4 separate regions of the Homo sapiens genome follow, and all the other regions are linked to region 4. Evidence: promoter capture Hi-C in 16 types of primary human blood cells and fetal thymus (Javierre and others, 2016). All regions are on one chromosome and are shown on one strand. Each heading gives the region's core, a stretch centred on a gene start or on the middle of the fragment in contact. The rest is flanking DNA. Distances are from core to core; before and after follow the strand shown. Region 1 holds the start of SHISA7 (shisa family member 7). Region 2 overlaps SSC5D (scavenger receptor cysteine rich family member with 5 domains). Region 3 holds the start of CCDC106 (coiled-coil domain containing 106). Region 4 holds the start of SYT5 (synaptotagmin 5).

Evidence for each region. The method cuts DNA at HindIII sites, captures the fragments that hold promoters and counts their contacts. A CHiCAGO score of 5 or more calls a contact.
Region 1: the fragment with the promoter of SHISA7 here is called in contact with the fragment with the promoter of SYT5 in region 4 in 11 of 17 cell types (M1 macrophages, activated CD4 T cells, M2 macrophages and 8 more); the score reaches 11.7 in M1 macrophages.
Region 2: a contact is called between a fragment that was not itself captured here and the fragment with the promoter of SYT5 in region 4, in 6 of 17 cell types (M1 macrophages, total CD8 T cells, naive CD4 T cells and 3 more). The highest score is 6.9, in M1 macrophages.
Region 3: the fragment with the promoter of CCDC106 here is called in contact with the fragment with the promoter of SYT5 in region 4 in 1 of 17 cell types (naive CD4 T cells); the score reaches 5.7 in naive CD4 T cells.

Annotation. Positions count from the first base shown.
Region 1 is chr19:55,441,714-55,444,741 of GRCh38, reverse strand. SHISA7 (shisa family member 7) reads left to right here and starts at 1,442. Exons shown (of 4, transcript NM_001145176.2): 1 at 1,442-2,549. The coding sequence starts at 1,879. RefSeq lists a silencer at 2,539-2,628 and an enhancer at 2,122-2,750. The HindIII fragment of the contact is 48,275 bases long and covers 1-3,028 here.
Region 2 is chr19:55,515,152-55,517,919 of GRCh38, reverse strand. It overlaps SSC5D (scavenger receptor cysteine rich family member with 5 domains), which reads right to left. Exons shown (of 14, transcript NM_001144950.2): 14 at 1-696. Among named protein-coding and RNA genes, the nearest start is that of SBK2, 21 kb to the left of the region's middle. RefSeq lists silencers at 524-703, 834-993 and an enhancer at 513-1,014. The HindIII fragment of the contact is 6,972 bases long and covers 1-2,768 here.
Region 3 is chr19:55,646,860-55,649,714 of GRCh38, reverse strand. It overlaps CCDC106 (coiled-coil domain containing 106), which reads right to left and starts at 1,503. Exons shown (of 5, transcript NM_001370470.1): 1 at 638-1,503; 2 at 406-510; 3 at 131-307. The coding sequence starts at 668. RefSeq lists an enhancer at 38-87 and silencers at 1,148-1,277, 1,308-1,427. The HindIII fragment of the contact is 17,145 bases long and covers 1-2,448 here.
Region 4 is chr19:55,178,895-55,181,756 of GRCh38, reverse strand. It overlaps SYT5 (synaptotagmin 5), which reads left to right and starts at 1,468. Exons shown (of 9, transcript NM_003180.3): 1 at 1,468-1,640; 2 at 2,671-2,794. The coding sequence starts at 2,716. PTPRH (protein tyrosine phosphatase receptor type H) reads left to right here. Exons shown (of 20, transcript NM_002842.5): 20 at 1-510. The coding sequence ends at 3. RefSeq lists silencers at 1,453-1,642, 1,523-1,935 and an enhancer at 1,923-2,002. The HindIII fragment of the contact is 13,685 bases long and covers 1-2,862 here.

The sequences.
Region 1 (3,028 bases), core at 193-2,692, 260 kb before region 4:
GGCAGTCACCCCAGACCCCTGGGGGGTTCCTCCTGCAGGTAGAGCTCAGACGTTTCCTTCTCCCGGAACCCGAGGCCAGGCATCCTTCCCACCTCTATCATCCCTCTAGGTCCACGGGGGTGGGCGTGTCTGGGACTTGGCTGGACTGTTGCCATAGAAACAGCTGGAAGACGTGCCCACCACCACCACCACCAACTCCCACCTCTCTTCTGCATCACCTTTTCTCTCTCTTTTGAGACAGGGTCTCACTCTGTCAACTCAGGCTGGAGTGCGGTGGTGAAATCACAGCTCCCAGCAGCCTTGATCTCTGGGACTCAAGTTATCCTCCCACCTCAGCGTCCTGAGTACCTGGGACTATAGGTGCGCACGACCACGCCGGGCTAATTTTTTTTTTTTTTTTTTTTGTAAAGACACGGTTTTGCTGTGTTGGCGAGGCTGGCTGGTCTCCTGCTTGAGCAATTTGCCCACCTTGGCCTCCCAGAGTGCTGGGATTTACAGGCGTGAGCCGCCGCACCCGGACGACCCTTTCTCAGCCTGTATCTCCCTTCTGAAATAGCAGCAGCAGCAAACACTTTCATATTTCACCTGCAATATGCCAGGCACTGTTCTAAGCTCTTTACACATATTCCCTCAGTTCATCCTCCTGACCACTCAGAGATAACCATCCTTATCCCCATTTTACAGATGGGGGACTTGGGGCACAGGGAGCTTAGATAAGAGCCTGTCAGTGTCAGGCAGCTGGCAGGAGGTCCAGTCGGCAGGGGAACCACCCTGCTGTGGTTGTGGTTCAGCTGTGGACAGAGACCCTTCAAACCCGACGCCGTAACAGTGGTGTGTGTGTGCGTGTGCATGCCAGGGAGAGAGAGAGAGAGAGGGAGAGAGAGGGAGGGAGGGAGGGCACCTAAGATCCCTTGATTATCAGATCTAACTAAGGGAGAGAAATTGGCATTTCGGGGCACTGAGGACCATAGGGGTGTAAGTCAGTGGTTCTCCACGGGGGCAGCTGTGGCCTCCTCCCACCAGGGGAACATTTGGCAATGCCTGGAAACATCTTACATTGTCACAACTCGGGGGAATGTGGTGCTGCTGGCATGGAGAGGGCGCTGCTAAACATCCTACAGCGCTCAGGACAGGCGCTCACCACAAAGCAGCATCGGTCCCCGAATGTCAGTGTTGAAAAACCGTGCACTGCCTCTTCCCACTTGCCTGGTCTATAAACTCAAATTCTCAACTTCTCTCTCTCCTCCTCCCTCCCTCTCCTCCCCCTCCTCCTCCTCCCCTTCTTTTCTCCCTCCTTCCCCGTCTCCCTGACTCCTCCTTTCCCACCCACCCCTCATCTGTCTCGCTTCCTTCCCTCCCTCCGCGGTCCCCACTCCCCTCGCCACCCTCCCCTCCCCTTCGCGCGCCTCCCTCCAGCTGCCTCCCCTGCCCTCTCCTCTTCGCCGCCCCCGTTTCTTCTCCTTACATCGCGCCTCGCCTCGCTCCTCGTCCTAATGTCTGCACACCCCTCTGGTGTCTGTCGACCCTCCCAATCGCTTCTCCCGCATTCATCTCTCGCCTGATCCCGGTTCTGTCCGCCCATGCTCATTTCTCTCCCCCAGCCGTGCCCGGGCGCGTTTCCATTACTCTCCCATCGTCGCCCACCGCGCGTGGGGCGGCCAACTTGGGCCCACGCAGCTCAGCTCCCTCCGCCCTTCCTGCCTCCTGGCGCCTGTTGCTCCCCACACTCTGCCGCCCCCCGCCCGCCCTCCCCAGCCTCTCTGCCCACCCATCTCTACGTTTCTCACCCTCTGACCGTTTCTCTCCCGCCCAGCGCTCCAACCTCTGCTCTCGTTCTCCCCGCAGCCTGGCGGCCCAGTGCGACCCCCTGCAAGCCCCATGCCGGCCCTCCTGCTCCTCGTACTCCTGGCCTCTAGCGCCGGCCAGGCCAGGGCGCGCCCGTCCAACGCCACGAGCGCCGAGCCCGCGGGCCCGCTGCCCGCCCTGCTGGCGCACCTGCGGCGCCTGACCGGGGCGCTGACGGGCGGCGGGGGCGCGGCGAGCCCAGGCGCCAACGGCACCAGGACCGGCCCCGCGGGCGGGGCGGGCGCGGCGGCCCGGGCGCCCCCTCCCGCCGAGCTCTGCCACGGCTACTACGATGTCATGGGCCAGTACGACGCCACCTTCAACTGCAGCACCGGCTCCTACCGCTTCTGCTGTGGCACCTGCCACTACCGCTTCTGCTGTGAGCACCGTCACATGCGCCTGGCGCAGGCCTCCTGCTCCAACTACGACACGCCGCGCTGGGCCACCACGCCGCCGCCGCTAGCTGGGGGCGCCGGGGGCGCTGGGGGTGCGGGCGGGGGGCCAGGGCCCGGCCAGGCCGGGTGGTTGGAAGGGGGCCGGACTGGGGGTGCCGGGGGCCGCGGGGGCGAGGGCCCCGGGGGCAGCACAGCCTACGTCGTGTGCGGGGTCATCAGCTTCGCCCTGGCCGTGGGCGTCGGCGCCAAAGTGGCCTTCAGCAAGGCGTCCCGTGCGCCCCGGGCGCACCGGGATATCAACGTGCCCAGGTGCGTGTGCTCTCGGGCGGGAGGACTGCGAGCCTGGGGCGGGGCCCAGCAAGGGAGGTGGAGCCATCCGAGGAGGAGGGGCTGCAGGGATAGGGCGTGGTGGTCAGAGACCCAGGTGGCGGCCGCCGGCGTAGCTGAAGGTGGGCAGGGGCTGAGAAAGTCGCGCCAGAGCCGGCCCGGCTGTTGCGGAGTGATGCAGGGAGAGGGAGAAGCCCAGACTCTCATTCATTCGACACATATTTCTTGAGCACCTTCTGTGGGCCAGGAGCTGGGGATACACCAGTGAACAAAACAAGGTCTCTGCCCTGGTGGAAAAGCCTGACTTCCAAATCCAAGTTCACAGCCTACAGGCTATGTGACAGTGGATGAGTTGCTTAACGTCTCTGTTCCTCAGTTTCCTGTCCGCACAATGAGACTAATCATCGTCCCCACCTATTCGGATTGTAATTAACTGAGTTGATTCGTGCAGGGTCCTGGCA
Region 2 (2,768 bases), core at 156-2,655, 340 kb before region 4:
TCATGGTGGAGTGAGTGATGGTGGTGAAGGGTTGAGGGGTTGTGGTGGGGTCAGGAATCATGGTGGAGTGAGTGATGGTGGTGGGGTGAGGGGTCGTGGTGGGGTGAGGGGTGGTAGGGAAGTGAGGGGTCACAGTAGGGTTAAGGGTTGTGATGGGGTCAGGGGCCATGGTGGGATCAGGGGTAGTAGTGGGGTGAGGGCTTGGGGAGGGGTCTGGGGATCTAGAATATTCTGAGACTGTACTGGAGTATGGAGTTGTGTCCAAATCTGGGGTTGTGTCAGATTCTGGGACCTGCTCTGAGGTAGGGGAAAGGCTGGTCACCTCCGACGGTGTAGAAGGGTCAGAGGTCAGCTCTTTGGGCAAGGTGGGTAAGGGCGTGGGTGAGGGCTCCGGGGTCAACGCGGGAACCACACTGGAGTCAGGGGTGGACAAAGCAAAGTCAGGGCTTGTCAAGATGAGGTCGGGGTTCGTCCGGGAGGCCGGGTCTGGGGTGGGTGGTGAAGTGTCCGGAGCGTCAGAGGTCGCCTCGGACGTCAAGGCTGAGTGGGGAGTGAGCTCTCGACTGGAGTCAGAGGTCAGCGCTGGGCCTGGGGGTCCCGGAGAGGCGGAGGGACCTGGGGACGGGGTTGGGGGCGCTGTCCTGGTCGCAGCGGGCCGCGGTGGCCGGCGCTCGGGCCACGGTTTCCTCGGGGAACCTGGAGGAGGAGGAAAGACAGACGGACGGTCTGAGGTCAACCGGCTCCGCCCACCACGCGTCCCGCCCCGCCCCTCGAGGAGCCGACCAATGGAAAGGCACAGAGCCTCGAGACGTCATGGGTCACCGGCAGACTTCACCCGGCCCTAGGGCCCCTCCTCCCTACGTCCTCCGATGGCTCCAGGCGCCACCTGGCGTCCTCCACTGCGGGAGGATGCGGGGATGCTCCGGACTCGGGGATGCCGAGGGGCACGCGGGTTGCGGGAGCGGGTGCAGGAGGGTGAGGTGAGGGAGGGATGCGTGGGGTGCTGGGGTGCGGGAGGGGGCGGGAGTGCTCAGAAGCGTGCAGCATACGGGAGGATTCTGAGCCAGCGGGGGACTGGGAGATGTGCGGAGCCAGGGGAGGCAGGGAGACCAAAGAGGGCTCCGAAGGGTAATGTTAGTAATCAAAATAAATACTTTTATGGATTTTTTTATTTTTTAAGATAAAGTCTGGCTGTGTCGCCCAAGCTGGAGTGCGGTGGCAAGATCATAGCTCACTGTAACCTCGAACTCCTGGGCTCAAGCGTTTTTATGCAATATTTTTAAACAATCAAAATTAATCCAAAAGATCCACAGTTAACCAAAGTTAACATTTTAACCAAAGACGGGATCCAACAGGGCCAGGATTAGGGGGAGCCCAGCGAGGCGGATAGGATCCTGTCTTCAGTGACTTTTTTTTTTTTTTTGAGATGGAGTCTCGCTCTGTCGCCCAGGCTGGAGTGCAGTGGCGTGATCTCGGCTCACTGCAAGCTCCGCCTCCCGGGTTCACACCATTCTCCTGCCTCAGCCTCCCGAGTAGCTGGGACTACAGGCGCCCGCCACCACACCAGGCTAATTTTTTGTATTTTTAGTAGAGACGGGGTTTCACCGTGTTGGCCAGGATGGTCTCGATCTCCTGACCTCGTGATCCGCCCGCCTGGGCCTCCCAAAGTGCTGGGATTACAGGCATGAGCCATCGCGCCCGGCCTTCAGTTACATTTTTGATACCGAGTTCATCATGGGTTTTTTTTTTTTTGGCATTAATTTTCATTTTAAAAAATACTGTATTATGATATTATGTATCTTGATTTTGGCGTTTTGGGCACCCCCTTAAATTTTGGGCCTGAGTAGCAGGAGGAGCCTGACCCTCTTCTGGGGCTGTCTTCCAAGTGAGTGCCAATTTTATCCCCATTTTACAGAAGGGGGAAATTAGGGCAAGAGGGCAGGTGACTCGCCCAAGGTCACACAGACATAGTTTGCAAGTTGCAGGGCTAAGACTTGAACCCAAGTTGTTTGCACATAGAGTCTAGGCAATGAAATCTCACATCTGCAGTGATGGGAATGCGCTGTGATCTACCGTGCCAATACAGTAGCCACTGGCCACATGTGGCTACCAAGCCCTTGAAATGCGGCCAGTGTGAATGAGAAACTAAATGTTTCATTTTCTTTTATTTTATTTTATTTTTTTTTTTGAGACGGAGTCTCACTCTGTCGCCCAGGTTAGAGTGCAGTGGCACGATCTCGCCTCACTGCCAGCTTTGCCTCCCAGGTTCATGCCATTCTCCTGCCTCAGCCTCCCGAGAAGCTGGGACTACAGGCGCTCGCCACCATGTCCTGCTAATTTTTTGTATTTTTAGTAGAGATGGGGTTTCACTGTGTTAGCCAGGACGGTCGCGATCTCCTGACCTCGTGATCCGCCCGCTTCGGCCTCCCAAAGTGCTGGGATTACAGGCGTGGCCACTGCGCCCGGCAAATGTTTCATTTTCAAAGTGTTAATTCATTTAACTTTTTTTTTTTTTTTTTTTTTGAGACGGAGTTTCACTCCTGTTGCCCAGGCTGGAGTGCAGTGGCGCGATCTTGGCTCGCTGCAATCTCCGCCTCCTGGGTTCAAGTGATTCTCCTGTGTCCACTTCCTGAGTAGCTGGGATGACAGGCATGTGCCACCATGCCCAGCTAATTTTTTTGTATTTTTAGTAGAGATGGGGTTTCACTATGTTGTTCAGGCTAGTCTTGAACCCCCGACCTCAGGTGATCTGCCTGCCTCAGCCTCCC
Region 3 (2,855 bases), core at 254-2,753, 470 kb before region 4:
GGGGACTAGCAGATAGGGCCAACATGGCAGGTCCCACCCAGCCAGCCAAACAGTGGAGCCTTGAGTCTGGGTGAGCGGGTACCCAGTAGCGGGACAGGGAGGCATGTGGATCAGAGCACCCCACACACACCTGCCTCCATCCGAGCAGAAGAGATGAATTTGTCCAGCTGGCACCGCAGGAAGTCCCTCTCTTCCTCCAGGTCCTCGATGCGCTTCTGCAGCCAGGAGTTCCTCTCCAGAGCCATGTGCAGCTGGGTCTTGACGCTGTTCATCAGAGCCAGGGCGGAGGACGCAGCCTCCGGAGGCTCTAGGGACACAGCGAGGGTGGGGGGACCAGGTCACACCCTGGGACTCAGGGCTTGGCTTCCCAGCTGACTCCAGTCCCTCCACACCCCCTCAGCTCACCCTCGAAGTTTCTCCGAGAGGGGCTCAGACTGTAAAAGATCTGTGGGTCTAGGTGGGGTGCCTCATCGAAGGGAATGGAGATCTCGAAGGTCTCATCGTCCTTCACTGGAGAGGAGAGGCCCCGGGTTACCCCAGAGAATTCCCCGGGCCTCTCAGGCCACCCCCCAACCACGGCAGCCTGGAGCCGACCGCACTGGGACCCAGGGTAGGGAAGGGGACCCAGCTTCCTCACTTGTCCGCCTCCGACTGCTCCGGTCATTCATGGCGCGGCTTCCTACGGACCCCAGCAGCCGAGGGCCTCAGGGGCACTGGACAGAAACGGCAGCCACAAATGGAGAGACGCAGATGGACTGGAGGGTCCATCCTGGGGGAGGTGAAGTGAGACAGGAGGGACCTTCTGGCCTGGACCCCTGGTCTGAGGGAGGAGGGAGCCTGGACCCCAGGACTGAGGCAAAACGCGCCTGGGCTTCAAACTCCTGGGCTCCTGGAGTCAGGGGCAGGGGGCCCAGCCGCCTAGGTCCTGGGGGAGAAGTGAGCTGGGGACGTGGGCTCCTGGGTATCGAAGGAAAAGGAAGCTGAAGCCCTAAATTGCTGGGTGCCCCAAGGGGTCGCCTGACCAGGGACACCTAGCCTGAAGGGGAAGGACCCTCTCTCATCGCGGGCCACTGCCAGGCCTAAGGAAGAGGCAGGTGCAGGGGGAAACTGCCCCAACTTCCCAGGGTAGGAGGAGGTCCAGCCCGTGCGCGCTGCCTCCTCTACCTTCGGGGCCCCCACACCCCTCCCCCGCACTCGCGTGGGCGGGCGGACCGTCCCCCGGTGGTGGGGGCTGGGCGCGTGCGCAGTACGGGGAAAGGTCACGCGTGGGGGTGCGCCCCCCCCGCCCCCGCCCTTTGTCCCGCGGGTGGGAGGGGGAGCGGTCGTGGAACGATTCCAGCGGGAACATGCACTAGGGCGGGGGTGCAAACGCGGCCACCATCCCCCGCCCGCGGGTGCCCGGGGTCCGAGGGGCCGAGGCCCCCCGCGCTCACCCACCCGCTCGCGGAATCCGGCTCGGGGACCGACGGCGGCGGCGCCCATGCCCGGCGCCGGGGAGCGTCTGCAAAGTGTCACGGGGAGCCGAGGGAAGCGCCCACCCACCCGCGAACAGGCGGGGCGGCAGGGGAGCGTGTCGTGGAACTGAGCGACGGAACGGGCAGGGACGCGGGGACTCGCCCAGTCGGGCCAGGCTAGCGCCCCTCGTTGAAGAGTCCCCGGGTCCAGGTGAGGCCCGCCGTTTGCGGCAGAAGCAGAGGGTCTGCACTTGCGCGATAGCCCCTTACAGCACTCCCCCGCCCTCCCCGAAGCTCAGGCAGGGAACATCACGAAATTCCCATCCTGGAGAGCTGGCGAGTCTCCGGGGGTCCCCGGATTGGGTGGCGGTGTGCCCAATGGGCCCAGAAGGCAGGAGAGTGTTTGAGACACCGAGAAAGTTGGAGCGAAAGGAGAATCTACTTTTAACGCTCTCTCAGGAACTAGCCAGCGCGGACCCCTCAGAGCTCCCCTACCTCCTACAGCCAGACCCCAAGGTTCTCAGGGATGTGGGGGCCAAAATCGGGGGAGTTACCCCTCTCCCGGAAAATGAGGGCCAGGAACACGCCACCCCCATCCCCATGTTGGTAATTAAGAGCTGGCTTTGGAGCAAAGCTAGATTCCAGTCCTGACTGTTCCTGCTCCTCCCCAGCCTGTTAACTCACCTGCAAAATGGGGAAATTACAAGCCCTTCTAAATTTATTGTGAGGATGCAGTGATGCGACACACAGAAGCTCAGCCCAGCACCTGGCCATCGTCAGGGCTGAAGAGAGGAGCGCTGCTGGTATTATTTGAGGTCAGATGGTGGGGTATGATGGCAGCCTCTGGGAGGCTCTTTCCCACTCTGGGGAGTATGAACGGAAGATTTGTTCTTCCTCCCAAAAAAACAGGTCGGAAGAGCAAATGAGGCCTAGCACAGTGCCTGGCACAAAATAGGCAAGAAAAATGAATGAATAAGCAGATGTTTATTAAGCTTCAGGCTCAGCTCCACCTGCCTCTCCTGTTCACCAGAAGCATCCAAGCTCTGGACTGTGGCCAGCCCTTATAAGAGCAAGGTCTTAACCCGATGGAGGGAGAATCTAAATGTCTGCACCGCCTGCAAAGCTGTGACCATGATCCTCCCCTCCCCACTTTACAGATTAACTGCAGCCTGGTCCAAAAATTCCAGGGGGAGCCATCTGCCCTAGATTGGTCTTTTCCAAACTACAGGTTCATGGGTGGAGAATTCAATAGAATAGGATGAAATCAGCAGTTTAAAAAAATATTTAGCCGGGCGTGGTGGTGCACACCTGTAATCCCAGCTACTCAGGAGGCTGAGGCAGGAGAATCGCTTAAACCGGGGAGGTGGAGGTTGCAGTGAGCCGAGATCGCACCACGCTCCA
Region 4 (2,862 bases), core at 219-2,718:
TAAGTGACGAGGGGGCTGGGTCGGCAGCCCAGGCATCCTCAAGCTCTGGACACCCACTTGAGCCCAGATTCCTGGAAGAGCAGAGGGCTGGGCTCCCAGACTCCTGGGTGCTGTGGGAGGAGGGGGCTGGTATCCCAAACTCTGGTTTCCCCAGGAGAGAGTGGTCTGGTGGGCTTCAGATGAGTCCTATGGGAGCTGGGGATCTGGATTCCTGGTTCCCTGAAGGAGGAGAGGGATGATAGCTTGGATTCCCTAGGTCTTTCCAGGATGCAGAAAGAAACAGGCTGGGGCCTGGATTCTGAGGCAGGAAGGAATTTGGGTCTGGAGTTCTGGCTACTTGAGGACCAAAGGCAGGAAGGATCCTGCCTTGATTTTACTTCAGAAACCAAATCAGTCTTCTATAATCTGGGGTCGGAGGGAGTCCCTGTGCCCAAGGTCTCTCTGCACCCCACCATCCACATGTATTTTTCCTTCTATCCCATAATTTATTAAATCACTGTTCTCCCCAGAGACAGTTGTCCCATGGATTTCTGGGTCTGGAAATAATATTGGATTGGGAGTAGGGATGGGTTCCTGGTATCTAGGGATCGAGGCGAACGTCCAGGAGGGGACTAGAGGGACCCACACATTTGCACATGAAAAAATGTAGGTTTGGGTGGTTGAGTCTCTCAGAGAAGGCAGTGTCCAGACGTCTGTGTCCAGGGTCTGGGCAGTATGGACAGGGCTCGCTGGAGCTAGGTGCTTGGGGACTTGCCTTCTGAGCTTTTCTTTTACTCTTCTCTGTTGTTGTTGTTGTTGTTTTGTTCTGTTTTTGTTTTTGTTTTTGAGACATGGTCTTGCTCTGTTGCCCAGACTGGAGTGCAGTGGCTCACTGCAGCCTTGACCTCCTGGGCCCAGGTGATCTTCCCACCTCAGCCTCTAGAGTAGCTGCCATCACAAGTGCGCACCACCACGCTGGCTCATTTTTGTAGAGACGGGATTTTGCTATGTTGCCCAGGCTGGTCTCCAGCTCCTGGGCTCAAGCATTCCTCCTGCTTCGGCCTCCCAAAGTGCTGAGGTTACAGGTATGAGCCACCGCACTGGCCGCCTCCTGGGACTGGTGTTAGGGGAACTTAGAGGGCGATGTCTGGGGGCTGATAGCTGGGGACTTTGATGCTGAACCCTGCAGAGTCTGGGTCTCCAATGGGGGTCTGGGGTCTCCTAGGTCCTAGGACTGAGTATCCTGGCATGCCGTTCTTTGGGCTATACAGGGTGTGTGTCGTGTGTGTTGGGGCGGGAGGAGTGGAGTGGTCTGGACGGCCAACGACTGGACCAGAAGGCAGAAAATGCTAAAGCACCAGGATAAACATCTGTGGGCGTCATCGAGGTTCCCGGGTGGAGGCGGGAGGAGGGGCGGGGCAGGGCTTTCCGCCTACCCGAGACCAAATACGGGCACACACAATACACACCACACACGCGCGCACACGCACACGGGCACACACGCGCGCACGGGATCCTGCTCCGCTCCGCGGCTCCCCCGCCCCGGAGAGCTCCGCGATCAGCACCCGGGACAGCGCCACCGCCCACGTGCAGGGGGTGGGGTCCGGGCGGGGCTGGCGCCTCGGCGTCTCCCGGGAGTGTCCCGTCCAGCCGCCGAGCAGGTAGGAGCTGCTGGGACCCCCGCCCTCAGCCCATCCGCATCCGCATCCCTAGAGGAAAGGGGTGTGCGAGTGGGGGCTGGGGCACTGGGGAGACAACCAGAGGGAGGGCAGCAGCCTGAAGCGGAGAGACAGGGATCTGGGGACGCGAGACAGGTATGGAGAAGACAAAGAGCCGAGGGCGGGGAGTGGGGCGCAGGCGGAGGGGAGAGGGAGAGACCCTGGAGACAGAGGCCAGGCGATAGGGAAGAGAGACAGGCGGGTTGGGGAGGCAGACACAGGGAAGACGCCTATGTGGGGTCAAGAGGCAGCGTGGAGACCGAGGCGGTCACGAGAGCAGCACGGATGCGTGGAGAGACCAACAGGCCAAGAAGGATGAGGGGGCTCAGCACAGGCACCGGGCAGCCCCCGACCCGCCCTCCAGCAAAATTGGGGAGAGGGAAGAGGGAACCTGCGTCTCAGCTCCCAGGACCAGGTGCGGAGGGAGCAGTCGGCTGTGGGCGCTCGGACCACAGGCTGCCCGCTCCCCACCTCGCGGGACCTCAGGATCCCAGTCGGGCTATTGGGGGGTTCCCAGGCACCGGTGGGCCCCGGAGCGAGCCTGCCCCGCCGGGACTCCGCGTCTGTGCGTCAGCCCCGCCCGTTGTCCTGGCAACAACCCGTTGCCCGGGCAACCAGCTTTGCTCTCACCCCGCTTGAGAGGAGCCCGGCTGTTGCTCTGGGCAACGCGGTCTGCTGGTTCCCACGTCTGCCTTCGCCCGCTTCCGGTTCAGACCCTGCGGAGGGGCGAGGACGAGGCAGAAGTCAGCGGGATGCCTGTGGGGCCGTGGAGGAAGAGGGTATCCCTTTAGGATGGAACTAGGTCCTGGACACCCCCTCTCAAGTGCGGGGAGGCTGATACTACAACTCCCAGCATGACTCGCGGTGGCTGTCCGGTTTCTGCGCGGCTGTTCGCGCAAAGGCCTCATGGGAGTTGGAGTTCTTTGTTGTGCGTGGGGCTCAAAGGACGTCTGGGGTGGGAATGGGGGACTAGGGTGCTTGAGTGTCTCTGCAGAAAAGACTCCAGGACCCCGCCACCATGTTCCCGGAGCCCCCAACCCCGGGGCCTCCATCGCCCGACACGCCTCCCGACTCCAGTCGCATCAGCCACGGCCCAGGTGAGCAAGACCCGGGGGTGGGGGGCCGAGCAGAGAGAAAGCCTGGCCAGGATTCCGAGGGGCGGGAT